Regions from separate parts of the Homo sapiens genome. Here regions 2, 3, 4, 5, 6 and 7 are each linked to region 1. The links are contacts of gene promoters, found by promoter capture Hi-C in blood cells and fetal thymus (Javierre and others, 2016). All regions are on one chromosome and are shown on one strand. Each heading gives the region's core, a stretch centred on a gene start or on the middle of the fragment in contact. The rest is flanking DNA. Distances are from core to core; before and after follow the strand shown. Region 1 holds the start of ZCCHC2 (zinc finger CCHC-type containing 2). Region 2 has its middle 22 kb from the start of VPS4B. Region 3 holds the start of KDSR (3-ketodihydrosphingosine reductase). Region 4 overlaps KDSR (3-ketodihydrosphingosine reductase). Region 5 holds the start of BCL2 (BCL2 apoptosis regulator). Region 6 overlaps BCL2 (BCL2 apoptosis regulator). Region 7 has its middle 250 kb from the start of BCL2.

What was found. Contacts are between HindIII fragments. The CHiCAGO score rates a contact against its expected background, and 5 or more counts as called.
Region 2: a contact is called between a fragment that was not itself captured here and the fragment with the promoter of ZCCHC2 in region 1, in 1 of 17 cell types (total B cells). The highest score is 8.1, in total B cells.
Region 3: a contact is called between the fragment with the promoter of KDSR here and the fragment with the promoter of ZCCHC2 in region 1, in 4 of 17 cell types (total CD8 T cells, non-activated CD4 T cells, fetal thymus and 1 more). The highest score is 6.4, in total CD8 T cells.
Region 4: a contact is called between a fragment that was not itself captured here and the fragment with the promoter of ZCCHC2 in region 1, in 2 of 17 cell types (naive CD8 T cells and fetal thymus). The highest score is 6.0, in naive CD8 T cells.
Region 5: the fragment with the promoter of BCL2 here is called in contact with the fragment with the promoter of ZCCHC2 in region 1 in 7 of 17 cell types (fetal thymus, non-activated CD4 T cells, activated CD4 T cells and 4 more); the score reaches 10.5 in fetal thymus.
Region 6: a fragment that was not itself captured here is called in contact with the fragment with the promoter of ZCCHC2 in region 1 in 1 of 17 cell types (naive CD8 T cells); the score reaches 5.2 in naive CD8 T cells.
Region 7: a contact is called between a fragment that was not itself captured here and the fragment with the promoter of ZCCHC2 in region 1, in 1 of 17 cell types (fetal thymus). The highest score is 7.4, in fetal thymus.

What each region holds. Positions count from the first base shown.
Region 1 is chr18:62,521,161-62,524,989 of GRCh38, reverse strand. ZCCHC2 (zinc finger CCHC-type containing 2) reads right to left here and starts at 1,965. Exons shown (of 14, transcript NM_017742.6): 1 at 627-1,965. The coding sequence starts at 1,565. RefSeq lists silencers at 72-201, 442-681, 1,572-2,071, 2,102-2,371, 2,602-2,711 and an enhancer at 683-1,256. The HindIII fragment of the contact is 5,111 bases long and covers 1-1,992 here.
Region 2 is chr18:63,442,067-63,445,895 of GRCh38, reverse strand. No RefSeq gene overlaps it. Among named protein-coding and RNA genes, the nearest start is that of VPS4B, 22 kb to the right of the region's middle. RefSeq lists a silencer at 1,046-1,155. The HindIII fragment of the contact is 1,615 bases long and covers 1,380-2,994 here.
Region 3 is chr18:63,365,322-63,369,150 of GRCh38, reverse strand. It overlaps KDSR (3-ketodihydrosphingosine reductase), which reads left to right and starts at 1,945. Exons shown (of 10, transcript NM_002035.4): 1 at 1,945-2,140. The coding sequence starts at 2,033. It overlaps KDSR-DT (KDSR divergent transcript), which reads right to left and starts at 1,827. Exons shown (of 2, transcript NR_186602.1): 1 at 1,292-1,827. It overlaps LOC124904317 (a long non-coding RNA gene), which reads left to right and starts at 2,151. Exons shown (of 2, transcript XR_007066400.1): 1 at 2,151-2,901. RefSeq lists silencers at 1,573-1,622, 1,733-2,182, 2,253-2,312, 2,663-2,712 and enhancers at 1,574-2,521, 2,561-2,855. The HindIII fragment of the contact is 10,630 bases long and covers 856-3,829 here.
Region 4 is chr18:63,335,390-63,339,218 of GRCh38, reverse strand. It overlaps KDSR (3-ketodihydrosphingosine reductase), which reads left to right. Exons shown (of 10, transcript NM_002035.4): 8 at 336-419. Among named protein-coding and RNA genes, the nearest start is that of BCL2, 18 kb to the right of the region's middle. The HindIII fragment of the contact is 6,476 bases long and covers 1-3,829 here.
Region 5 is chr18:63,317,846-63,321,674 of GRCh38, reverse strand. It overlaps BCL2 (BCL2 apoptosis regulator), which reads left to right and starts at 1,906. Exons shown (of 3, transcript NM_000633.3): 1 at 1,906-2,501; 2 at 2,723-3,593. The coding sequence starts at 3,009. RefSeq lists an enhancer at 49-138 and silencers at 1,030-1,099, 1,130-1,339, 1,500-1,689, 3,045-3,284. The HindIII fragment of the contact is 7,545 bases long and covers 1-3,829 here.
Region 6 is chr18:63,159,432-63,163,260 of GRCh38, reverse strand. All of the region lies in intron 2 of BCL2 (BCL2 apoptosis regulator), which reads left to right. Among named protein-coding and RNA genes, the nearest start is that of BCL2, 160 kb to the left of the region's middle. RefSeq lists enhancers at 1,031-1,080, 1,281-1,570, 1,661-1,900, 2,311-2,430. The HindIII fragment of the contact is 5,416 bases long and covers 1-3,829 here.
Region 7 is chr18:63,072,483-63,076,311 of GRCh38, reverse strand. No RefSeq gene overlaps it. Among named protein-coding and RNA genes, the nearest start is that of BCL2, 250 kb to the left of the region's middle. RefSeq lists an enhancer at 2,534-2,583. The HindIII fragment of the contact is 1,490 bases long and covers 893-2,382 here.

The sequences.
Region 1 (3,829 bases), core at 716-3,215:
CTGCTGGGAACACAAGCCCTCAGAGCAGAAGCCACAAGGACCCGTACGACCCCTTTTAACTCAGGCACACACTGGGCAAAAAAAGTCCCTCTGTGCCAAAGACAAGGGCAGCTCGCCGGGAGCGCACCTTCAGGACACCCCGCCGAGGGCCCGGCAGAGCCCGGAGACGGGAGGCGGAGCCCCGGCCAGGCAGGCGGGGAAGGACGGCGCTGCCTGGGGCTCACTGCGGCTGGCTCTCACACAGGTTCCTCCAGCGCCCGGCGGCTCCCGCACCGAGCGCTGAGATGCTCAGAGCCAAAAACGTCCCGACACTTTTCCTCCGAGAGGGGCCCCGGGCGGGGAGCTCCACGTCTTCCGTGGCAACACCGTGGCACGGAAGGGACTTCTAGAGCATTCTGTGATGGCGGGTGGCTGTGTCTGCCGGGGTGTGGGGTGGGGTGGGGGAGTGGAACGGAGCGGCCCAGCGAGACGAAGCTCAGCCCTCTGGCGCTGGGAGCTGCCGGGTGGGGATTCCGAGCCACCTGCGCCGGGCTGGGGCTCGGGCAAGGGGCGTCCGAGAGCGAGGCCGGGGAGGCCGCCGGGGCAGCGATCGCACCGCGAGTCCAGGGAGGCTCCGTGCGCCTTACCTGGGCCCTGGGGCCGGCAAACTTGCACGGCTCTACCTCCACCTCCGCGTCCTCGGGGCCCCCGCGGAGCGCGGCGCGGAGCCTCTCCAAGTGTTCCCTCAGGGTGACCCGCTGGTGGAAGGAGAAAGCCGGGTGCAGCGAGGCCATGGTGAAGAGCAGCAGCAGTTCCTCCTGGGCCCTGGAGCCAAGCCCGCCGCCGACCCGGGGCTCCACAATGCCGCCTTCCGGGCCTGAGCCGTCCTTCTCGGCGTCCTGCTCGCCGTCGCCGTCCTCGCCGCGCTCGTCCTCCGCGCCGCCCCGCGAGCCCTCGCCCCGGGCCGCGCGCAGGCTTTTGAGCACCGAGTCCACCTGGGGTAGCAGGCGGTGCAGACGGCCAGCGGCCTCCCGGTTCTCCGAGCCCAGCAGCGCCAGGTAGACGATGAGGCGCGAGCGCACCGCGGGCTCTCGGAAGTCGGCCAGCGGCCCCGGGTCCGAGAGGCCGTTGGCCTTGGCCTCCGAGTCGCGCAGGTAGTGGTAGTCCTTGCGCGCCAGGTCCTCCAGGCACGAGCCAAGGAAGCGCAGCTCCAGCGGGTTGCACAGGTCCAGCAGCCCGCACATGAACTCCAGGCGCTGCGCCGAGCCCAGCACCAGCCCGAACCACTCGTATACCCGCTCCTGCTCGCGCAGCGCCGCCGAGGGCCCCCCGCCGCCGCCCGGCATACCCGCCCCCGCCGCCGCTCCACCAGCAACAGGCGGCCCGAGTCCCCGGGGCGGCGGCGGCGGCGGCAGAGGGCCCCGCGACGGGCCCGCGGGCGGCGGCGGCGGCGGCGGGGGGCGGCAGTCGCGGCGGCGGCGCGAAGGCGCCTTCGCGCCCGGCCGCGCGTCCGCCTCGGGCTCCTCCGCCTCGGGCGGCGGCTCCGCGGGGTGCGTTGGCTTCAGCGGCAGCTTCATCCTCAGCATCCTCGGCTAGGGCGGCGCAGACATGCGAGCGGGGGCGGGCGGGAGGGGCCGCGAGGTGGAGCACGGGCCGAGGCGGCGGCGCGGCCGTCAGGAGCGGGGCCCCTCCATGCCGCCGGGGGAGGGCCGGGGCCGGGGGCGGGTCTCGGCCGGCGAGGGGGGCGGTGGCCGGCCGGCGGGGTCGCTGGCGTCGTCTTCCCGGGCTGGGGGCGGGGCGTGCCCGCGACGGCTCCTCCCCCTGGGCTCCTCGCCGGTTCTGGGAGCCCGGGTGCGGGTGGGAGCAAGCGAGCGAGGGTGTCCTCCTTCCGCCTCCCTCTCTCCGCCGTCCGCGCTGAGCCGGGGCGGCGGTGCCTGAGCTGTTCCCTCGCGAGCCGGTGAGGACGGAGCGGCTGGGTGAGGAGGTGGAGCAGCCGGGCCGGGCGGAGAAGCTTGCGGGCTCCGCGCACCTCACCTCCGCCAATCAGCACCGCGAATCGACGGTGACGTCGCTCTCCCCGCCCCCTGGGGGGCCGCCTTTCTCCAGGAAGCCACGCCCAACTGCTGGCCGGCCGCCTCCCTCTCGGCGGCTTCCGTGCGGTCCTAAAGGCTGGTGCTCGGCAGGAGGAGGACGCGGGCTGGGGCCGTGGGGCGGCGTGAGGGTAGCCCGGGAGCGGTGAGGAGCGTGCGAGGCCCACGTGAGCGGAGGGACGCGGCCGCTCTCACCTTTCCTGAGGGCCCTGGCCCGGCTTTGGACTCCTGATTCTCCTCTGCTTGCCAGCTGCCGCCCCGCCTCCGCCAGTGGTGCCCGGGCTGCCTGCGCGGCCGGAGTGAACGCGTCCCGGGAGCAGGGGTTTCTCCGAAGTGAGTGCGCCAGCCCCGGGACGAGCTCGTTCGAGTCCTCACCGCCCAGTGCACTTCCTGAAAGCCGGCGGTGGGCTGTCTCCCACCTTGTGAAACTTTGCCAGGTGTCGCTCACAGGGGACTGGGTCCGGACGCGGGTGGCGGCGCTGGTTTGCGGCCCCGGTTTGCGGCCCCGGCGCCGCGATCCCGGGCCGCGCCCACGCCCAGGCTGGAGGCACCGTGCGCAGGTGGGGACGCGCGGCCGGGAGGTGCGCAGCGGGACCCGGCCGGCCGAGGGTGAGCGCTGCTGGGGACGCTCCTAGTCTGTAACGCTCTGTGAAAATTATTTCCTGGATAGTTTAGGAAAAGCCTCTCCCTTCCCCGCCCCTAAACCTCTATCTTTTGGGAATCATTGATTTGCTAAATGACATTTCGGTGCCTAACCCATTTTGAATCCTTGTTCTGCTGTGAATTTCATGTGACTGGAGGAATTTAATAAGCTACCAACTTGACAGGCTTTAAACTTAAAAAAAAAAAGTTTTGTTACGTTTTTCAGATTTAGGCTTCCAAGATGTTTACACTCGCACTGTTACTTTTTTTTTTTTTTTTTTTTTTTTTTAGCAACATAGTCCAAATTTTTAAAACTCAGCTGGATCTTTTGAGGGTTAATTAAAAGGTGGGTTAAAAAAAATCTTAAGACTTTAAATTTAGAAGTCCTACTACAGCTATGTAGTAGGAGTATGCAGAAAGATAAGAATCACATTGTAACTCTTTGCGGTGGTGCTGGAACATCTGTTGGGAGAGCATATGCTGAACTCTGTTCACCTCACAAGTTTATGTCCTAAGAGGCTCATTCACAGTTCAGTAAAAGGGTGAACTGAAGCCTGAATCAGTTTCGGGGATGAAAGGGTGAGAGGGAGAACTGTTTTCAGCACATTTGAGGTTGGCAAAATATATAAAAGTCACTCTTTCTTGTAATTTGCTAGTTCTTTACAGTCTTTAGATGTAATTTACAGCCAAGAAAACTTTATTATGAGGACTTATACGTCATTGCCCTTTTTTGCTGTCACCCTCAACTACCCTGGGATCTTCTACTCATATCTCATCTCCTGTTCCCACTTTTCTAAAGCTTAGGGTGAAATACTTAGGCAACTAGTAATAATATTAATCTTGCTAGATATTCACAGGTTCATAGTGAGCCAGCTGTCTAGATCTGGATATCTAGTGAGCAAATAAATTCTTTACCTCCGAGTTGATTTTTGTTTTATTGATCGATTGACACAGTCTTGCTCTGTCACCCAGGCTGGAGCACAGGCTCAAGCAGATCCTCCTGCCTCAGCCTCTCAAGTAGCTGGGACCACAGGCACGTGACACCACACCTGGCTAATTGTTTGTATTTTTTTGTAGAGACAGAGTCTCACCATGTTGCCCAGGCTGGCAAATTGAGT
Region 2 (3,829 bases), core at 938-3,437, 920 kb before region 1:
GCGGGTGGATCACCTGAGGTCAGGAGTTCAAGACCAGCCTGGCCAACATGGCAAAACCCTGTCTCTACTAAAGATATAAAAATTAGCTGGGTGTAGTGATGCACACTTTTAATCCCAGCTACTCAGGAGACTGAGGCAAGAGAATCACTTGAACCCGGGAGGCAAAGATTGCAGTGAGCCGAGATCATGCCACTGCACTCCAGCCTGGGCCACAGAGGGAGATTCTGTCTCAAAAAAAAGAAAGAAAGAAAAAAGAAAAAAAAAAAAAAGAAAGAAAAAAGAAAAATTATACCTTTTCATTTAGTTGACTAATAACCATAGGTATTTGTGTTTATTACATACTTTCAAATATTAAATTATATTTCTTTTGAGATACTCCATAATTTAGAATTTTCCTTTATGTAAACTCACGTTTTTCCCAATAACTCTAAGCCAATGAGGCTTGGCTCCTCTCTCTGGGCCTTTCTTTCTCTCTCTCCTCAGTCAAACCCACCCTCTCTGCTGCTCCCATAAAACGTCTAGGAGAACTGGTTAATTTCCTCATAAGACAAGATATTTGGCTTTAGGATACAAATGTGACTGGGCAGGCTCTCTGCCCAGGGACTGGGCCCAGCTCCGAGTGGGGTTTGTTCCAACAGAGAATCACCCTAACAGGCCCCAACAAGAGGATCATGGGTTCCAGCTTCTAGGAATGAGGGCTTTTCTGCTACATGATGCCCAGCACCTTGTCTTCTGTGAATCTTGGCTCAAGAGAATGAATTCACACTTTGAGGAAGAATGGGGAAGAATTTTTGGGTGTGGTTTTTGGTTGTTCTGTGGGGGGTTTTGGCCATTAAAGAAAATAGCTCCCATTTCAGGCGCATATTCACCCCAGGAATGGGGTTGCTGAACTGTGCCTTTGAAGAATGAATGCTAGTACTCAAATCCATCATCACGATGGGCACCCTACCTTAGGGATGAAGTTTTATGTGGTAATAAGTAATAAAATATATATGTACGCATTTCGAGAGACATAGTTACATCTCATGGAATCAGAAGCAGAACAAGCTGTTTCCCCAGAGACTCTTTTTTTAACTTCCTGTCAGCCTCAGTGATGGCTCCACAAGTGTTTATTGCCAATGAGTGACATAATCGCTGTCTCATTCAGACAGCACATTTTGCAAAGACACTCCGTTTGACTCACTCAGACATACTGGGTGTGTGTGTGTGTTGTAATATTTCTATAAGCTACCACGTGCTTTTAATTTATTGAGTTTTCAAATGTCTAGGCATTCACTCAGGTTTAAAAGTAAGTACTCAAGAAATAAGCAATCTATATTTCCAACCACAACACTTGTTAAATTGAATAAACAGGAAAAAAAAGGAATGAAAAATAAGCTTTTTAGAACTATGTTTCAGGCTGAATGAGGTGGCTCACACCTATAATCTCAGCCGAGGCAGGTGGATAACTTGAGGTCAGGAGTTCGAGATCAGCCTAGCCAACATGGTGAAACCCCATCTCTACTAAAAATACAAAAATCAGTTGGGCATGGTGGCAGGCGCCTGTAATCCCAGCTACTCGGGAGGCTGAGGCAGGAGAATTTCTTGAACCCAGGAGGCAGAGTTTGCAGTGAGCTGAGATCGCACCACTGCACTCCAGCCTGGGCGACAGAGCAAGACTCCATCTCAAAGGGACAAAAAGAAAAAAAAAAAGAACTATGCTTCAAATGGCTCATAGAACATAAGGTAAAGTTCTGCACACTCAGGATTCCCCCGCCTGTACCATGACACGCCCTTGACTCATTGCTCATTTTAGGTAACTACCATCGCTGCCCTCCAGGTGCAAACCTCTCACCCTGACTTTACTATTTCTTTCCCGCTTGCTTCTCTGCCCTGATTAGTTCTCCCTGAGGCACACATCACCTCTGTTCACCACCCTACCACTATGGGCCGTTTTAGAAGCCCTGTTCTCCTGTGAACAGAGAGGGGTGTCTGTGTTTTGGAGTATGCGTTATTGGGTGTGGCAGCCACCTCCAGGCAGGTACACCCAATAACCCAATAATGCCTCTTTCCCTTACACTCTCAGGCTCTCCCACGAGCCCAGGCATGGCCACGATTAGCAAGCAAAGGTGTTGAAAGGAGTAAAGCAGAAAGTATTTTAAAGAAGGCATAACAGAGAAGACCCAGTTCTCCTAGGCCCCACTCCCACTCCAATAAAACAAAAGACCCTCTGATTTGGATGACAGAGGAAGAAGCCTTGGAAAGAAAGTAAGAGGGTAAGAGTCAGTGTAGGGGCCACAAAATTTGCCCTTCATTTGGTAAGTCGAGTTGGGGGTGGAAGGAGAAGTAGCAACACACAATAAAGCTCCCTTTTCACTTTCAAAATCCAAGAACAAGAAGGGCCTGAGCCTCAAATGCTGGAGGAGGCCCAGGGAGACAGCAAGTCTCTACCAAAAAGTCCCCCCTGGGGTTACAGGTCATGACAACCCTGGAGGGGTAATGGCAGTACAAGAGTGTGTCTAGGCCGAGCACCGTGGCTCATGTTTGTAATCCCAGCACTTTGGGAGGCCAAGGCAGGTGGATCACCTGAGGTCAGGAGTTCAAGACCAGCCTGGCCAACATGGTGAAACCCCGTCTCTACTAAAAATACAAAAATTAGCCAGGCATGGTAGCACGTGCCTGTAATTCCAGCTACTCAGGAGGCTGAGGCAGGAGAATCACTTGAATCCAGGAGGTGGAGGTTGCAGTCAGGCGAGATCACACCATTATACCCAGCCTGGGTAACAGTGAGACTCTGTCTCAAAAAAAAAAGAAAGAAAGAAAAAGAAAAGAAAAGAAAAAAGAGTGTGTCTAGGCTTGGGAGGGCATCTGGACATACCCATGGCCACCCCCTGCCAGGGGTCTATTGTGCCTCAGATGCAAAGCTCACATCCTAATATCTATCCCAGGGAGAGGAATAGTGCCTGAAGTGATCATCCTGAATATGGTTGAGCTTGTTCCAATTGTGACAAAGCTTTAAATCAGTAATGCCCCCAAATTACTGAATGTAGCTGGATATACTTAAAAGTAGCCAGACTATTTTTCCCTTTATGAGAACTAAATTCAGTTATCAAAAAAGTTACATTTTTGTATATCTGATTTTTGAAAATGTATAACATTACATGCATGATTTAACCTGTATTTTCAGACATTTCTTTGTATACCTGTCCCATCTCCATACACTTTAATACTTGGAATTTGACTTTGGCCCACTGGCACCACATCCCCTTACAATCTTCTCTAATGAAAGGTGAGTTTTGGCCAGTCCTCCCTCAAGGGAAGCGTTCCCTAACCACCCCTCCTCCTCCTTCTTCCTTTAAACACTCTCACAGAAGCTTCTCATCATAGCATTTATTGTACATGATTACCTATTTCATTATCTGTGATTATCTCACCTACTGAACTGTAAGATCCATGTCTTTTTTTATTGCTTCTATCTCCAGGATCAATAATGGTGCCTGTCCTAAAATTGGTATGCAGTAGAATCTAGCAGATTCTCTATTTACGAACATTCAACTCACAAACTTCACAGATATATACAAGCTCCTCTGGAAGACCAGAGTGCATCAAATCTAAACAGCAACAATATTATGGCCTAATCTCTATTACAAATACAGTTAACTTATAACTAACATAAACAGGTGGCTTTCCTTGGAACACACCCCACTCCGCTGCCTCAAAGGATTACTACTGGGACCACCCTTTGGCAAAATAAGCCCTATCTTCTTCTGTTGATGTCTTTCCTGATCTTCAAGGCCCAATCTAAAAGCTTCACCATTCTATATCTTATTTCAGGAGAAAATTCAGCTCC
Region 3 (3,829 bases), core at 696-3,195, 840 kb before region 1:
GGACATTATGCCTTCAAATTTTGCAGTTTGGCTAACTGCTGTAAGTCAAGAAAAAAAGGAAAAGAAAAACTTTTTTTTCTCCTTCGCTCCCTAGTATTTCTAGAAACAACAACAAAAATGAAAAGCAAGTAAGCAAACAAAAATATGTGCCTCTATGCAAATTAAAATCACAATGAGACTTCACACCAACTAAAAAAGCTATAATCAGAAAGACGGATGATAACAACTGTTAGTGAAGATGTAGAGAAATTGGAACCCACATACACTGCTGGTGGGAACACAAAATGTTGTACTCACTTTGGAAAACTTCTGGCAATTCCTCAAATAGTTAAACATAGAGTTGCCGTAAGATGTAGCAACTCCCCTACTAGGCATGTACCCAAGAGAAATGAAACATAATGCCCACACAAAAACCGGTAAATGAATATTTACAGTTAGCATAATTCTAATAGTCAAAAAGTGGAAACAACCTAAATATTCCTCAATTGATGAATGGAAAATTAAAATGTCGTATAGTCATACAATGGGATATTATTTGGCAATAAAAATAAATGAAGTATTAACATGTAGTACTTCATATCATGGATGAACCTTGAAAACATTACAGTAAGTGAAAGATAGGATGAAAAAGGCTACATATTATATGATTCCATTTATGTGAAATATCCCGAATAGGCAAGATTATAGAGACAGAAACATGAGGGATTGCTTAGGCTTGGGCGGGGCTTGGGAGGAAATGGGTCGTGACTGCCAATGAGTATAGGATTTTGGGGGGTTGTGACAAAAATGTTCTAAAATTTATGGTAGTGATGGGTCTACAACTGTGACTATATTAAAGACAATTTATTATAAGCTTTATTTATTTATTTATTTTTGAGACGGAGTCTTGATCTGTCACCCAGGCTGGAGTGCAGTGGCGCGATCTCACCGCAATCTCTGCCTCCCGGGTTCAAGCGATTCTCCTGCCTCAGCCTCCAGGGTAGCTGGGATTACAAGCATACGCCACCATGCCCGGGTGATTTTTTGTATTTTTAGTAGAGACGGGGGTTTCACCATCATGGCCAGGCTGGTCTCGAACTCCAGACCTGAAGAGATCCGCCCGCCTCAGCCTCCCAAAGGTCGGGGATTACAGGCGCGAGCTACCTCGCCCGGCCTATTACGCACGTTAAATCGGGAATTGTATGGTATAGTACGTGAATGAGACCTTAATAAAGCTGAGTTGTTTGCGTTATTTATTTGTTTTGAACCTGCTTGGTAAAGATGAACTCTGAACTCAATGAAATTGAATTACCTTAGTGATTCCTCAAAACTCCCTGTTAAGGCTTTCCGGTCCTCTGAAAAGCGAAAGTGGGCCGTGACCATCTTCTAAAAACGCCAAAAAATATGGAATGGAGCCCGGGATTTCAGAGCGTAGTCGCTGGGCTCCCAGGCTGAGCCCGCTCCGGGAGCCTCCAGCCGCCCTTTCCGATGCTCCGGGGCCTCCGAGCAACCCAGCGGGCAGTCCCAAGCCGAGGGCTGAACTCCAGGGAGGAGCGCTCGTCACGCCCACACTGGAGGCCGTGGCAGGCCTGGAAACCCGCCCTGCGGGGTCCTAAGAAGCCATTCGAGCTCCCGAAGAGCGAGTCTTCGCAGCCCTTCCCGGCGCGCTCGCATCTGGCGCTGTCCGGAGCCCGCTCGCGACGCACAGGGACGGGAGGCCCGGTTTCCACGGGAGAGGCTGCGGACTGCGGGCCCCGTCCCGAGGCCGGGGGAGTGGGAGACACCCGGCGACCCCCGAGAGGCGATTCTGGCAGTGGTGGCGGTGGCGGTGGCGGTGGCGGCCTACTCGCCCCCTGGAAGCACCGCCCCGCCTGGGTGGCGCGCGCGCCGGCTCCTCCTCTTCCCCTCCGCCGCGGCCCGCCCCGGCCCGCAAACCCAAACACTCCAGGCGCCCGCCCGCCGCGCGTGATTCTCGCCTCGCCGCAGCCCAGCCCTGCGCGCCTTGCCCGGCGGCCCCCGCCCGGCCGCTCCGGGCCCCTGGCCCCGCGGAGCGATGCTGCTGCTGGCTGCCGCCTTCCTCGTGGCCTTCGTGCTGCTGCTGTACATGGTGTCTCCGCTCATCAGCCCCAAGCCCCTCGCCCTGCCCGGGGCGCATGTGGTGGTGAGTGGCCTCCTGTTGCTGCCCCCCGACTTACCGGCCCGCGCGGCCTTTCCGCCGCCGAGGCCGCGTAGCCTACGTCCCTTTTTCCAGGCCGCGGTCCCCAGGAAGGCATGGCCAAATGGGGAAGGTCACCTGCCGCCGTCCACCCCGGCGCTTTTCCCCCGGCCCCGGCACCCGGCCTCGCGGACCCGCCCTCCGCAGCCTCGGGCTCCTCCTAGGGCCGGAGAGCGTGCGACGGGGGACCCCGCCGGCCGCAGGGTTCCCGGGGCCCCAGGGGTTCTGTGGCTGCTCGTGAATCCATGCAACATCCCTGGGATGTGGATGTTTTGTCCTCAGTTTTTCCGATGAGTCAACTGAGGCACAGAGAGGCTGAGAAACTTTGCCAAGGACACAGCGGTCGGTGGTGTGCAGGGTGCGGCGCGCGGCCCCGGGCGGGGGCAGACAGCGGGGAAGTGGGGTCCCAGCCGCCGGGACCCGCCGAGGCAGCTCGGAACTGGAAGATGGCCTGTGCGAGTGACGGGAAGAGCCGCTGCCAGAGGATTCCAGGAAGTGACTCACCTGGGGAAACTGCTCAGAACCCAGCGGGCTGGCGGTGGTGGCTTAGCGGTATTGGGACGCCTGTCCCGTCTACACTGCTTGTCTCTGAGCTCAGCGTGGCATCTGCTGATTGCTGCTCCAATGCAATCCTTTGCTGTTTTCTAGTGGGAAGGATGAGCTAAACGACAAGGCTTGTGTGCGAGGAATGAAGGAGAGGTGGATAGGTGTGATTTATTTCTTGGCGGAAGCTCGCATATTCAGCGATCCCTGTTCTGCAAATGTGGCACCTTTCTTAAACAGAGAGAATGCCTCCTTGCCTGCGCCCAGCACTTTCCCGTTTGCAGTGGCTTTCTCACGAGCATTCTCGTTTGGATCTCCCAAACCCGAGGCACAGTGAGGCGAGGAGTTAGGAGTAAGGAGGGTTGGTTACAAAATTGGCCGCACACCTCTTCCTGTCCTATCTCTGCACCGGAGATCCGAGCCTCCCCGCTGAGCTGGTATAAAATAAGATGGTCGTTTTTCTTAGTATGCTTTAAATCTGTACAAGGGTTTGTGAATGAGAAAATGTATCTGTTTAATTTCTCCTTTGTAAAGCTATTAGCTTTTTCCAACACCTCCTGTTCCTAATGGGGAAAGAGTGTGGATTCATTACAAAAAATAAATAAGAGAAAGGCAAAACTTGACACTCTAAATTCTGAAAGTTTTACATCCGCAAGAGAACTGCTGCCTCAAAAGCGTGGCTTTAAACCTTGGATCCTTTCAGAGCTTGAGTTTATAGAGCATAACTTTGCAAAAACTAAAGCTAAACGCAGAATGAAAATTGGAATTCCTTATTTGTAAGACAGTTTCACTGAGCCTTGACTCCAGTCCTTCCAGCCCCATCCCGCGGCAGGTCATAGGTGAGATAATAAATGCTGTGTCTGTTCAGGTGGACCAAGAAGAATTTATTTTTACCATCCCGCTTTAATACGCAGGATTATTATTTCACACTCTAAGTAATGTGAGAATGACATGAATAGTTCACATGGTGTCACCATCTGTCTTCTTTTTTAATGTCATAAGAAGAGTGAAAAGTGTAATTGTTCTTGAGATTTGTTAGGAGTTGACTGTGGTATTGTTGGGAGAGGGAGCTGATGGTTAAACTGTCTGCCC
Region 4 (3,829 bases), core at 1,330-3,829, 810 kb before region 1:
GGCCAGCACTGAGGAGTCAAAGGGGGTCTTTCTGAACTTGTATCCAGTGATGTGTTCTCACTCTAGCTTTGATGGTCCTCAGTGGAGCCAAGACTCCGTATGTTCTAAGAGAATGGCAAAGGCCTCCTTGTCTTGTGTTAGCTACTGGGTAGAATTTTACGTAGTAACTAGGTAGACACTGATTTAGAATCCAGATGGACCTTATTCTAGAAATAGGAATCTGCCCAAAGGTAGAAAATTGGAATTATTTGTAAATCAGGAGGCTGTAAGAATAATTTATTTTTAATGTAATGGGCAATCATGATATTGTTATGTACATGTTTTTCCACTTTTAGCCTTTGGAGACTCGACTTATTTCAGAGACCACATCTGTGTGCAAACCAGAACAGGTGGCCAAACAAATTGTTAAAGATGCCATAGTAAGTAAAATCCTTGTTTTCTGTACTATTTGTGTTTGTAGTACTATATTTCTGAAAAGATATTTGTCCAAGGACTTACTTCAAAACATCAATTATTAGAATTTTTTAGTCTGTCAGATTTGTCATATCTAATATTGGACTCAACTTTTCTTCTTTTAGACGCTTTATTGACTCCATATTAGTGAGTAGCCTCCTGAAAACTGATTGTATACCTTAATCTGAGGAACAGGTTTACTAGAAGGATGTCTGGAAACACCGGTTCTTTAAAAAGAAAATGAGACTTTCCTATGAGTGTAAACGATATATACTATGTCCCATATACACCTGGCTGCTTTCTCTCCCATTCCTGCTTCCCAGTATCATTTTCCCAAAAGTTAGCTAACGAGAAAGTGCCACCAGCCCCGTGGGCCTGTCCTCCTGTCTTCCCTGTTGATATGTTTTTTAATTCAGAATCAAAAATGGTATTTTAAGAAATGATGTGCTGTTTTGTAGAAGAACAACATATGTGCCTCATGCTTTTTGACAACATTTCTGTTAATGCGGAAAAATGCACATTTATGAGGGATGTCTGTAAACCACAGACCCACACTGAATTTGGAAAATCTATAGGACCATTGGAATGAGAGGTGTCAGCACATGGTGGACAGCCTTGAAGTGGCCTAAATGCTGTCACATTAGACTGAACTGAGCAGAATGAGAATAGTGAATTCTGTTGAAATATATACATGTGTGAAGAACTTTGTCCTGAGTGCATTAAAAGGCTCAGGAAGATGGCACAAGTGAGACTTTATTTTTCCTGCTTATCTCGGGTCAAAGCAAATGCATTTGGTGTTTTTTGTTGTTGTTGTTGTTTTGTTTGTTTGTTTGTTTTGAGACGGAGTTTTGCTCTTGTTGCCCAGGCTGGAGTGCAGTGGCACGATCTTGGCTCACTGCAACCTCTGCCTCCTGGGTTTAAGTGATTCTCCTGCCTCGGCCTTCTGAGTAGCTGGGATTACAGGTGCTCACAACCACACCTGGCTAATTTTTTGTATTTGTAGTAGAAATGGGGCTTCACCATGTTGGCCAGGCTGGTCTCGAACTCCTGATTTCGGGTAATCCGCACGCCTCAGCCTCTTGGCCAAAGTGCTGGGATTACAGGCGTGAGCTCCGTGCCCAGCCCATTCAGTGTTTCTAATGATGCTAAATAGCTCTTAGTATTTTGGCAGTATTCATTTAGTTTAGTGGTTTTCAAACTTTTCTTCTCTTGACCACTTTACATTCTTACAAATTGTCAACAACCCCAGAGAACTTTTGTTTATTTACATGGCTATATTTATTGATATTTGCCATATTTGAAATGGAAGCTGTTTGTAATATTTATTGATTCATTAAAAATAACAAAAATGGCTGGGCACAGTGACTCGTGCCTGTAATCCCAACACTTTGGGAGGCCAAGGCGGGCGGATCACCTGAAGTCAGGAGTTCAATACCAGCCTGACCAATATGATGAAACCCCGTCTCTACTAAAAATACAAAAATTAGTCGGGTGTGGTGACATGCGCCTGTAATCCCAGCTACTTGGGAGGCTGAGACAGGAGAATCGCTTGAACCCAGGAGGTGGAGACTGCAGTGAGCTGAGATTGAGCCATTGTGCTCCAGCCTGGGCAACAAGAGCAAAACTCCATATATATATATATATATATATATTCACATATATATATATATAAAGTCACATATATATATATATAAAGTCACATATATATAAAGTGACTTTTTTTAAACAAAATTTACTACTTTTCAAAACAAAAGTTCAGTGAGGACGGTGGCATTGGTTCACATTTTCACCAGTTGCTTTAAGGTCTGCATTAACAGCTGGATTCAAATAGCTGCTTCTGCATTCCATCTGTTGTAATAATGTTGTTTTGATGGAAGGATATACAGAAAATCTGGCCTGAGACAGATACGGAGTTGGGAAAGGGAAGACTATTTTACTAGGCTTTTCAGATAATTATGGACATTCTTTTTTGATATCAAACCCAAACTCAACAAATGGTAGTTTCTTAAAGGTTAGTTGCAGTATAGAATTGGAAACTACATCAATGAATGTTTTGTTCTCTGTTACATTAAATTCCATTGGTCCGTCTTGTACTTTGAATGGATCTTTTAACCATTCATGATTTCGTAACATTATGCATTAGTCATTTGGAAAATATGGGTTGACTGAGTGATCAGAAAAATCGCTTTCATCAGTATTACTGCTGATCTTATCATAAAAGTATGCAGCTGACAGTCTCGTGATGGTGGATACTAGTTTTTCCAAATCTTAATTTTTTCTTGAAGGCTCAGATTTCACATTGATGACACGTGGCCAGTTGTTTTTCCTGAAGTGACACACTTGCTTGCTTCGCTTTCTGCACATCTGCCACATACCTAAGTCTGAATTACTATAGATTTCCTGTCAATGGTCTTTCATATAAAAATTATGCTCTCCAGCCAGGCACGGTGGCTCATGCCTGTAATCCCAGCACTTTTGGAGGCCGAGGCGGCTGGATTGCTTGAGCTCAGGGGTTTGAGACCAGCCTGGCCAACATGGTGAAACCCCATCTCTACTAAAAATACAAAAATTACCCGGGTGTGGTGGTGCATGCCTGTAATCCCAGCTACTTGGGAGTCTGAGGCAGGAGAATCACTTGAACCTGGGAGGCAGAGGTTGCAGTGAGCAGAGATCACACCACTGCATTCCAGCCTGGGCCACAGAGTGAGATTCTGTCGAAAATAAATAAATAAACAATACAAATGATGCTCCATGAAAGAAGTGGCAGTTTAGCCCTTGACTTCAGGAGCTGCACAAGGACTTTTGTTCCAGGCAGTTGTCCCGCCCTGGAATGCAGTGCTGCGGAAGCGCGTTGGGCGCATTCTCATTTGTCACACAGAGTATTAAGAAGACATGTCCTCGAGGGTTGCCATTGAACAAAATGATGAATTTTCCTGCTTTATCAAGAGGATTTTAAAGCAAAACTGACACTTTGATTTTTAAAAGAATTTTAGAACTTGTATTTTCTTTGTGTATTATTTATTACTGCGAGTGCGTGTGGTAGTAGAGGTGACAATGACTCCTAGTACAGTTTGGCAAGAACCCCGTGGTTCTTGCCCATGTCTCTGCAGTTTTGCAGAGGCAAAACTGTATTTTCCATACAACACACTGTGGAAAAGACAATGAATGTCTTAGTGTTATTAGGACAATCATTTGTCCTTGGGGGCCCGCAGGGGTCCGTGGACTCACTTGTTGAGAACTGCCATCTGCCAAGGCCGTGCGTCCATTTCTGAGTGCTGATCAATGCTTTGTGACCATTTTATCTCACTTAAAGTGAACGAGCACACTCCACTGTTTCTGATGTGTCCGACTGATTTCTGTCCACATTACTAGGATT
Region 5 (3,829 bases), core at 657-3,156, 800 kb before region 1:
TGCACACCAGCCTCCAAGATACAACAGAGCAAGACTCTGTCTCAAAAAAAAAAAAAAAGTCATAGCATATTTGTACACATTGTAGTACTCATTTGTCATCTTTCTTGACCCCAATAATCCAGTGTCCCTATATATTTGCACTCGAGCCCTATTAAGTAAGCCGCTGTGCTTCTAGAAGACCTTTTTCTTTTCTTGGTGCTTTGTCAAAGACTCTTGGAGATAAAAATACACACGTGCAACTTGTTTGTCCTCTTGTCCTTTTTTGCTAGGGGCTATTCATGCTGATTAATTTAAAACTGTCTGCTTGCGCGTACACACGTCTGCGAGTGTGAATGTGTATGTGTGTATCTATGTACCTCATTTGAGAAAGTGCGGCCAACTAGGATTGGCTACGAGGCAAAGGTGGAGACCTTTAGGAGCCCACCCACCCCAGCGTTAGGACGGTGGGCCTGAAAGTTACTATATGGAAGTCCTCATCGTGTAGCACTAAACCAGTGTAAAAGGTGTTAGGGACAGAGGGAAAACATTGACTTAAACTGTCGTAAAGCCCTTGATAAACCCCTTCCCTGGAGCGCTGAGTTCTGCATGGCCTGGGCCACGGACTAGGTGTTCAGGTGGACACGGGCGGGGATGCGCGTGCGTGTGTAGTGCGCGGACACCTAGGAAGCTACTTGAAAGTAAACACCACGCTCGGGGCGTCCCTAGACATTGCTTAAAACGTGCAGAGTCACCTGTCTTCACAGCAGGGCAGCGCTGAGGTCCCACTGCTGGGGGCGGTGGGGGGCGGCATTGGCCTGGGTCTTCCCCCGGCGGCCGAGCGCCGGTAACACAACGTGTGTGTGTGTAGGCGCGTGTACACACTCTCATACACGGCTAGAAAGGGTCCAGGCGACACACACACTCCCACATACACGGCTAGAAAAGGTCCAGGCGAGACACACACACACACACACACACACACACACACTCCACACACACTCACACGGCCAGAAAGGGTCCAGGCGGTTCCCGGCGCTTTTCCAGCCCTTGTTTTCATGGCGCACCCTCCCGCCAGCCGCCCCCCTCCGCACTCCGTCGTCCGCCCGGCCCGGCCGCGTGCGGTTCCCCGGGAGCCCCCACCCCGTCGCGGACCCCAGCGACCACCAAGTCCGCACGCGGCCTGCCGCAGGCCTGAGCAGAAGGCCCCGCGCACACCCACCGCGCCGCGGCCGCGCGGGAGGCCTGTGCCGCCCGCGCCACCCACTGGCCGGGCCCCGCGGGCGCAGCGGAGCGGGCGGGTGGCCGGCCCGGACGCGCCCTCCCCGGCCGCGGCCCCGCGCGCCATGTGCCCCCGGCGGGACGCGCCACTCCCGGGCCTGCCGCGGCGCCTTTAACCCGGGCCAGGGAGCGGGGCGGAGGGGGCGGTCGGGTGGCTCAGAGGAGGGCTCTTTCTTTCTTCTTTTTTTGAATGAACCGTGTGACGTTACGCACAGGAAACCGGTCGGGCTGTGCAGAGAATGAAGTAAGAGGACAGGCACCACAGCCCCGCTCCCGCCCCCTTCCTCCCGCGCCCGCCCCTCCGCGCCGCCTGCCCGCCCGCCCGCCGCGCTCCCGCCCGCCGCTCTCCGTGGCCCCGCCGCGCTGCCGCCGCCGCCGCTGCCAGCGAAGGTGCCGGGGCTCCGGGCCCTCCCTGCCGGCGGCCGTCAGCGCTCGGAGCGGGCTGCGCGGCGGGAGCTCCGGGAGGCGGCCGTAGCCAGCGCCGCCGCGCAGGACCAGGAGGAGGAGAAAGGGTGCGCAGCCCGGAGGCGGGGTGCGCCGGTGGGGTGCAGCGGAAGAGGGGGTCCAGGGGGGAGAACTTCGTAGCAGTCATCCTTTTTAGGAAAAGAGGGAAAAAATAAAACCCTCCCCCACCACCTCCTTCTCCCCACCCCTCGCCGCACCACACACAGCGCGGGCTTCTAGCGCTCGGCACCGGCGGGCCAGGCGCGTCCTGCCTTCATTTATCCAGCAGCTTTTCGGAAAATGCATTTGCTGTTCGGAGTTTAATCAGAAGAGGATTCCTGCCTCCGTCCCCGGCTCCTTCATCGTCCCCTCTCCCCTGTCTCTCTCCTGGGGAGGCGTGAAGCGGTCCCGTGGATAGAGATTCATGCCTGTGCCCGCGCGTGTGTGCGCGCGTGTAAATTGCCGAGAAGGGGAAAACATCACAGGACTTCTGCGAATACCGGACTGAAAATTGTAATTCATCTGCCGCCGCCGCTGCCTTTTTTTTTTCTCGAGCTCTTGAGATCTCCGGTTGGGATTCCTGCGGATTGACATTTCTGTGAAGCAGAAGTCTGGGAATCGATCTGGAAATCCTCCTAATTTTTACTCCCTCTCCCCGCGACTCCTGATTCATTGGGAAGTTTCAAATCAGCTATAACTGGAGAGTGCTGAAGATTGATGGGATCGTTGCCTTATGCATTTGTTTTGGTTTTACAAAAAGGAAACTTGACAGAGGATCATGCTGTACTTAAAAAATACAAGTAAGTTCTCTGCACAGGAAATTGGTTTAATGTAACTTTCAATGGAAACCTTTGAGATTTTTTACTTAAAGTGCATTCGAGTAAATTTAATTTCCAGGCAGCTTAATACATTCTTTTTAGCCGTGTTACTTGTAGTGTGTATGCCCTGCTTTCACTCAGTGTGTACAGGGAAACGCACCTGATTTTTTACTTATTAGTTTGTTTTTTCTTTAACCTTTCAGCATCACAGAGGAAGTAGACTGATATTAACAATACTTACTAATAATAACGTGCCTCATGAAATAAAGATCCGAAAGGAATTGGAATAAAAATTTCCTGCATCTCATGCCAAGGGGGAAACACCAGAATCAAGTGTTCCGCGTGATTGAAGACACCCCCTCGTCCAAGAATGCAAAGCACATCCAATAAAATAGCTGGATTATAACTCCTCTTCTTTCTCTGGGGGCCGTGGGGTGGGAGCTGGGGCGAGAGGTGCCGTTGGCCCCCGTTGCTTTTCCTCTGGGAAGGATGGCGCACGCTGGGAGAACAGGGTACGATAACCGGGAGATAGTGATGAAGTACATCCATTATAAGCTGTCGCAGAGGGGCTACGAGTGGGATGCGGGAGATGTGGGCGCCGCGCCCCCGGGGGCCGCCCCCGCACCGGGCATCTTCTCCTCCCAGCCCGGGCACACGCCCCATCCAGCCGCATCCCGGGACCCGGTCGCCAGGACCTCGCCGCTGCAGACCCCGGCTGCCCCCGGCGCCGCCGCGGGGCCTGCGCTCAGCCCGGTGCCACCTGTGGTCCACCTGACCCTCCGCCAGGCCGGCGACGACTTCTCCCGCCGCTACCGCCGCGACTTCGCCGAGATGTCCAGCCAGCTGCACCTGACGCCCTTCACCGCGCGGGGACGCTTTGCCACGGTGGTGGAGGAGCTCTTCAGGGACGGGGTGAACTGGGGGAGGATTGTGGCCTTCTTTGAGTTCGGTGGGGTCATGTGTGTGGAGAGCGTCAACCGGGAGATGTCGCCCCTGGTGGACAACATCGCCCTGTGGATGACTGAGTACCTGAACCGGCACCTGCACACCTGGATCCAGGATAACGGAGGCTGGGTAGGTGCACTTGGTGATGTGAGTCTGGGCTGAGGCCACAGGTCCGAGATGCGGGGGTTGGAGTGCGGGTGGGCTCCTGGGGCAATGGGAGGCTGTGGAGCCGGCGAAATAAAATCAGAGTTGTTGCTTCCCGGCGTCCCTACCTCCTCCTCTGGACAAAGCGTTCACTCCCAACCTGACCGATAACGCCTGCCATCTAAAAGTCTTTAACTTGCTTGCTAGTCGTGGAGATCCAA
Region 6 (3,829 bases), core at 644-3,143, 640 kb before region 1:
AGGTAAGGAGATTTTCAGGTGGGATGAGCTGAGCTGGAAGAATGGGTTAAGATTTGGGTGATGAAGGTAAGAGTGCTCCCAGAAGGTAAAGATACAGACAGTGGTAAGGAAGGGTGGCCAGCCATGGTGACTCACACCTGTAATCCCAGCACTTTGGGAGGCCGAGGTGGACCAATGACTTGAACCGAGGAGTTCAAGACCAACCTTGGCAACATAGCCAGACCCCATCTCTACAAAAACTAGCCAGACATAGTGGCACATGCCTATAGTCCCAGCTACTCAGGAGGTTGAGGCAAGAGGATCACTTGATCCTGGGAATTCAAGGCTGCAGTGAGCTATAATTGCGACTGCACTCCAGCCTGAGTGACAGAGCAAAAGTTTCTCAATTTAAAGGAAGGAAGGAGGGAAGGAAGGAGGGATGGAAAGAAGGAAGGAAGGAGGGAAGGAAAGAAGGAAGGAGGGCAGAGTTTGGGGGTTTGGGAGGGTGAAGGCATGGAAATGAAGGCTCTGGTGTCTTCCTTGGAGGAGCAGTGAGGATGCTGCCCTAGTGGTAGCCAAGGATTAATTGTGCCAAGAGCATAGATGGTGCTAGAAAATCAGGCGACAGTAGCTGGATTATGAAGGTCTTCACAAAGCAGGCAAATGAGTTCAGATTTGGTTTAATAGAAAATAGGAAGTGAGAAAGAGGTAAGAAACACGATCTAGAATGCTGGCCAGCTGTGTCACCCGCGTGCCTGCCTGCACCAGTAGTGTCCCCGAGCTGGGCCTGACACCATTCTTTGGTGATGGTGGAATAAAGGCAAGTTGAAGAAATAAAAACATGTTCATATATGTGAGTTCCCAAGACAAACCACAGCAGATCCCAGGAATGTGTTTCTGATTGAGCAATGAAGACGTGTTGGTGGGGTTTTGGTTGGGGTGGGTGTGGGTGTCATCTCTGTTTCATGAGGTCTAAATTTCTACTGGCTCAGAAAAAGAACTTTGAGCAGTTTTTTGTTTATATGGGTCATCATCGTCTTCAATTTTTGTGGAGTTTTCTCAGAGCTTCTTGATGGTCTGCTAATACTAAAATAAATATATTAGGCCTTTTGCCTGTCTCTTCTTTTCTGTCACTGGGTGATGGCCTTTGTTTCCTCTAATGGACACATTCCAGATTTGAGTGCGGAGCGGGCAGTCCCTGGCTGCTCATGTCTGACATCGTTCCCTCCCTGTGTAGCAAAGGGAAATCAACAGCACGTGGGAGGGGGAATCTGTGTTCTAAGAACTGCTTTGGTTTACACATCTATAGATAACACTCAACCAGCACTGCAGGTCACATGGACCGGCTGGTGAGGCTGAGGATGAGTCACTTTTAAATTACTCATAGAGAAAGAAATATGTTTCTGAAAGCCAGAGTGGTTGGCTTACACATGGAGGTAAGAGAGAAAGCAGGCAGCTTCATAAAGCACTCAGACCTCCTGTGACAGCTGACGTGGTGTGTAGTGCGTCAGGTGGGAAGACGGGGCCCTGCGTCCTCAGCAATGTATTTGGAGGTGAGGCTTTTTGTTGATGGGAACCCCTGTGCTGGGACTTGGGGGTATTTAGGATACATTTCCATCTAGCTAGACTTTCTCTTACAGTCCCACTTTGTAAATGGCCCTAGGACCCTTGATTAACTTTCAGTAACACAGTCTAGTGGTGAACACCAAGCCATCTGAGGCTGAAATATGGAGAAGTATGTCAGTCCAACAGAAGGTCAGATGGGGAGGGGCGAGGGAGCTTTCAGAAAGTCTTGGAGTACAAGGGCCTCAGCTGAGCCTCGAAGGTCTTCATTCGTTGCAAAGAAGAAGGAATTCTGTCCCAAGCGAGATGGAAAGATCATCTGAGCAAAAAGAAAGCATCAGTGACAGAGGCTGCAACTTCATTTCACTGGCTGAGTCTAAATTTTTTTCACAGGAAAAAATATACAGAAGACAAGAGAACAATCACCAAGGAAGCCCAAGGCACTGCTTACTAAATTGGTCCAAGGGGGGGATTTCACCAAATGCAAATGAACAAAGAACAATACATGTGACTCAAAATATCCGTTATGCTCTTAATACTTACGAGAGGGTGTGAGGCAGGGAGGTGACCTTTTCAAGGGTTGAAAGCTGTCAACTTTTCAACCACATTGTTTTCATTGCTGGGAGATTGAAGACAGGATCACCTCAGGGTACCATTTTGGAAAAGTGATTTAAAAAAAATTAAAAACTCCTTCCTGCATAATGTTTTGGGACATTTTGAATTGTTTTTGCCGTGAAGACATAGAATTCAGGTGTCCAGGAAATACTGCAACCTTTTATGAGAAATGAATACCCAGAAGTCTAGAGCTGCCTGGCACTCACTCTGGCAGGTCTTCCACCTCTGGTCCCTCTCCAGCAGAAGGGCTAGTGAGCAGTTTAGGACCCCTGGAGCAGGGGTACCCTTACCCCCACCCCAAAGGAAGCGATGTGGCTTTTTTCTCGCAGCCCCGCCCCCATCCCTTTGACAGGTCACTAGAACAACAGAGTGCCCAAGTGGAGACAGGGAGGAATGTGATGGTTGGAGGGACCTAAAAATAACCATTTTTCCCTCATCCTGAATGTGCTACCCTGGGCCAGACATTCCCTGAAGGGCTCCTCTGAAATCTGGGAAACAGGAAATGCTAAGAAAATCTCTAATTTGCCTGGTCATGTGAACTCCTCTCGGTGTTGAAACAGAATTTTGGAAGAGGGGACTCTGCACTGTGGTTGAGCCCTCCTAATCAGAGAACATTTGCCCCTATGAGAATATGGTGGATGTGACTATTCAGCCTCAACTTCCCTCTTTCTAAACATGTAAACTCTGATGCCTAAAGAACAAAACCAGAAAAGAAACCCACTCGGTCTTAGTTGCGTATCTGAGTGCCGACAGGGCGGCTGAGAGGGGCCCACGTGCCTGTCGCTAAAAAGCCCCTTTGGCATTTCATAACAGGACCCAATCCCGCAGACTTGTCTGTGCAGGCTCACGCACCATCTTCAAAACCTTTACTACCTGTATTTGTAGTAGATGATTAATGATTAGGCTTTCTTCCCACACATTTGGCTTTGATAATCTCCACTCAAAAATATTCAGATGCAAATAATTTAAAAACAAAGTGGCTCCAAGGGCTCTTTCTGGGAGGATGGAAATGCTGCATATCTTGATAGGGGAGTGAGTTAAAGGGATGTATGCCTTTGTCAATATTCATAAAACTGTACACATGATATATTCATTTTGTTGTATGTAAATGATACTGAGAATGAAAACTCTTAAGATAATAAAGTGGGTTGAGTTTGGAAACCAGAAAAAGTGGACACGATGTAAATGACCCCGCTGAAAACGATTCGAGTTGGCCAGCAGAAACTAAGAAATGCGTACGCGTGGGCAGTCCCCACTGTGCGGGGAAATCTTTGCAAGGTGAGCAGATTCAGCTCAGCTCATAGAAACTCCAGCTGATTCTGCACATTCATCTGTGTTTTTGTAGGTGTTTTTGGTGTCTTTGTGTCCATTTCTGTTTGGCTCATTTCCCTACTCAATTGGATTTTGACTTCTATTTCCTGAATACAACACCCCCGCAATACCTAATATCCCAGGCCTGTGAAAAGTGAATGCCTAATAAATGTCCACTCACTCACTGAGATGGACTGCTTCTCCTGTCTCTGTTACATTCTATCAAAATTAGCCAGTGCATTTGGCCCTAAATGCATTTGTAAAAATGGAAAGTAAAAGGAGAAACATTCATACTTGTACTAGTTTTGAGAAAATTCCCAGTTATCTCTGCTTCTAAAAGAAATCCGTTTCAGAACTTTTA
Region 7 (3,829 bases), core at 388-2,887, 550 kb before region 1:
TAACTTTTGAATGTGAACAATAACAAATGGGAAAAAATTGGAAAAAAAAAAAGCCAGCTCACAATAGCAGCAAAACTATAAAGGACCTAAAGAATATACATTACGTACCATTTTTAAGAGCTTTATGGGAAAAAATTATAGTTTTATTAAAGGATATAAAAGAAGATCTGAATAATGGGTAAGAGGTCTCAAAAGCATAAACATGTCAATTCTGCCCAAATTATCTATAAATTTAAGTAAATTCCAAATAAAATCTCAGCAGAACTTTTCTGTTCATTTGTAACGTGATTCTAAAATTCATATGGAAAAGTGAATTATCATTGCCAAGATAATTTCGAAAAATAAGAACAATGGGTGGGCAGGAGCAGTTGGCCTGCGGATTCTGAAACATTCTAGACAGTCACAGAAATTAAAATATAGTTGTCTGAGCAGAGGAAGAGGCAGCGGACAGAATAGAGAGCCTGGTGCAAATCCATGTTCATGCAGGATTCACATGTAGGGGCTACGTGGGATGTGGAATATGATAGCGGTGGCACTAGAGATCAGCAGGGAAAGATGAGCTTGTGCCATCATTGATGATGGAAGCATTGGCTTTTCATATAAAAGACTCCTACACTAATTATACAAAAATTAATTCCAGAAGAATTAAAGACCTCAGCACGAAAAATCGCAACTAAACACTACTGAGACGTGAGACCTCAACCACATCTTGAATGCAAAATTTCATCGAATGTGAATATCATAATTCTATGTATGGAAAATTTTTAAATAAGACAAAGCATAACTGTATGTTGTTCATGAAGATATTTTTTAGTTTAGTTTCTTTTATTTTTATTTTTTTATTTTTAAGTTTGAAGAATATCTTTATGGCCCAAAGTGAATCTGCCAAGCTTTTTAGGCCACCTTGCGTGCATTTTAGTTGTTTCCCCAAGGGAGAATCTGAATCGGTGCCTTCCCTGACTCTTTCCCAGCCAAAATGCGGGCACGTGACCAGGCCTGCCAATCAGACACGGGGGCCTCGGGCCGCGGGAGGGAGCTGGCTGGCTGCGCGTCTCCGGGAGCCGCTGTCATTTCAGTGGCGCATTCTGGGCAAAGGCGGTGTGGTCCCGGGGTGGGCAGCAGATTCCGGAAAGGGTCAGTTGGTTCTGGGAGTGTCCCTTTCATTGTCTCAGGCCTCTTTTCCCATCTGTCCCAAACGTTGTGTGAACTCCCTTCTGTCTCTCCTAAGTTCTTTTCTGCTTAAACTGGTCAGACCGGATTCTACTGCTTACAAATGACAACTGTAACTGACACGCAACCCTGCAGAACAGAAAACATCTTTATAACAAAACATACCCCATCAACGTTAGAGAGGAAAAAACAGGCCTCGAGAAGGTATTTGCAGGATCTATAACAAAGGAATTAATAAAGATATATACTGTATTTATCTTATCAGAGAATTTATCTTTAATGGAGAAAACTCGGATAAATAAAGAACAGAAGCACGCCCATAGGAAAGTGGAGGGAAGGAGAACAGGAAGTCCTCAGAAGCAGAAATCCAAAGGTCTTTATTATATATATTTGTTCTTATTTTTACAATTTACATAAGTAAAATTATGGCATTCATATTCCATACATTCCTTCACACAAGATAAGCGTACGTGAGACCTCAACCACATCTTCAGTGCAAAACTTCATGGAATGTGAATATCATAATTCTACTTATGTAAACATTTTAAATAAGAAAAAGTATAACTGTATGTTGTTTATGAAGTTTTTTTTTTTTTTTTTTTTTTTTTTTTTTTTTTTGAGACGGAGTCTCGCTCTGTCGCCCAGGCTGGAATGCAGTGGCGCGATCTCCGCTCACTGCAAGCTCCGCCTCCCGGGTTCACGCCATTCTCCTGCCTCAGCCTCCCGAGTAGCTGGGACTACAGGCGCCCGCCACCACGCCCGGCTAATTTTTTGTATTTTTAGTAGAGACGGGGTTTCACCATGTTAGCCAGGATGGTCTCGATCTCCTGACCTCGTGATCCGCCCACCTCGGCCTCCCAAAGTGCTGGGATTACAGGTGTGAGCCACCGCGCCCGGCCCCTGAAGATGTTTTTAAACTATTTTTTAAAGTTTGAAGCTGGAAGCACGCACTGCTAAATATGATAGTGCTGCCTTTCCAGCGTAGAGGGCTCAGCAGCCAAGCATCACAATCAAAAGGCTTCCGAGATTTAGTTGTATTTATTTCTGGGGGGGTGGAGAGATAAAGTATTTACAGTTATTAATGGTTTAATATGGATTCTTTCACTCCATTTCCTACACTTACAGAAGAATTACATGAGAGGAAATAATGGTATATTCTATGTGTAAAAATGACAGAGGGAAACTTCATCATAGAGTCCGGAAAAATAAGCTTTTGAAAAAACAAGTACATTTCTGTGGCTTTATTCTCAACTCAATTTTTAATTATGCATGCAATTTACTCCCATGAAATAAAGATAAAAGATCATAATGAGTCATTTATAATAATTTTACGTCTTAAATAAAGTAATGGAGCTTTTCCTTCTAACATGCCATGTTCTTCACAATGATCCTGTACCTCTGTGTAGCCATGACACCAAGCCTCCAAGATCACAACTGTGACACGCACCTGTCATTCACAGGCCAAGCCACAGGATGCCACTGTTGCATTTTTGCTATAATAGACTTTTACTTAAGGTGAATGAAGAAAGAAAAAAAGGAAACTCTATTTTTAATAAACAGACACATGGCAACCATTTAAGATTCAAGATACAACAAACCTTACCTTAGTTATTAGTTATGGCTAATTATTAAAATCCCTTTAAATTGGACTTTGAACATCACATATTGAAGTTGAGATTTCTATGCCAGCCATGTGCAATTGCTACATTTATAGACTCATGACATCTCTTAATATATTACTGACGGCCGGGCGCGGTGGCTCACGCCTGTAATCCCAGCACTTTGGGAGGCCGAGGCGGGTGGATCACGAGGTCAGGAGATCGAGACCATCCTGGCTAACAAGGTGAAACCCCGTCTCTACTAAAAATACAAAAAATTAGCCGGGTGCGGTGGCGGGCGCCTGTAGTCCCAGCTACTCGGGAGGCTGAGGCAGGAGAATGGCGTGAACCCAGGAAGCGGAGCTTGCAGTGAGCCGAGATTGCGCCATTGCAGTCCGCAGTCCGGCCTGGGCAACAGAGCGAGACTCCGTCTCAAAAAAAAAAAAAAAAAAAAAAAAAAAAAAAAATATATATATATATATATATATATATATATTACTGACTTAAAATAACATATTCACTAGTATTTAAGCCTCTCTAAAATTGTTTGTTAATGAGTCAATGTATTTTTGAAATCGAAGTGTTGGGTAAATCAAAGTATCGTTTTCCTTTTACTTACCCAAAGATACTTATTTGCATTCTGATTGAACCACAACTGATAGTTATACTTGGCACTCTCCAATTTCTTTTTTTGTTTGTTTGTTTGTTTTTGTGATGGAGTTTCACTCTTGTTGCCCAGGCTGGAGTGCAATGGCGCTATCTCGGCTCACTGCAACCTCCGCCTCCTGGGTTCAAGCGATTCTCCTGGCTCAGCTTCCGAAGTAACTGGGATTACAGGTGCCCGCCACCACGCCTGGCTAATTTTTTTTTGTATTTTTAGAAGAGATGGGGTTTCACCAGTTGGCCAGGCTCGTCTCGAACCTCTAACCTCAAGTGATCCGCCTGCCTTGGTCTCCCAAAGTGCTGGGATTACAGGCGGCACTTTCCAGTTTCTTTCTGACCCTGTCCCATACTTTCTAGCAAGTAAGTAAAGGTTTACAAATTAACAATTACAGGTCCCC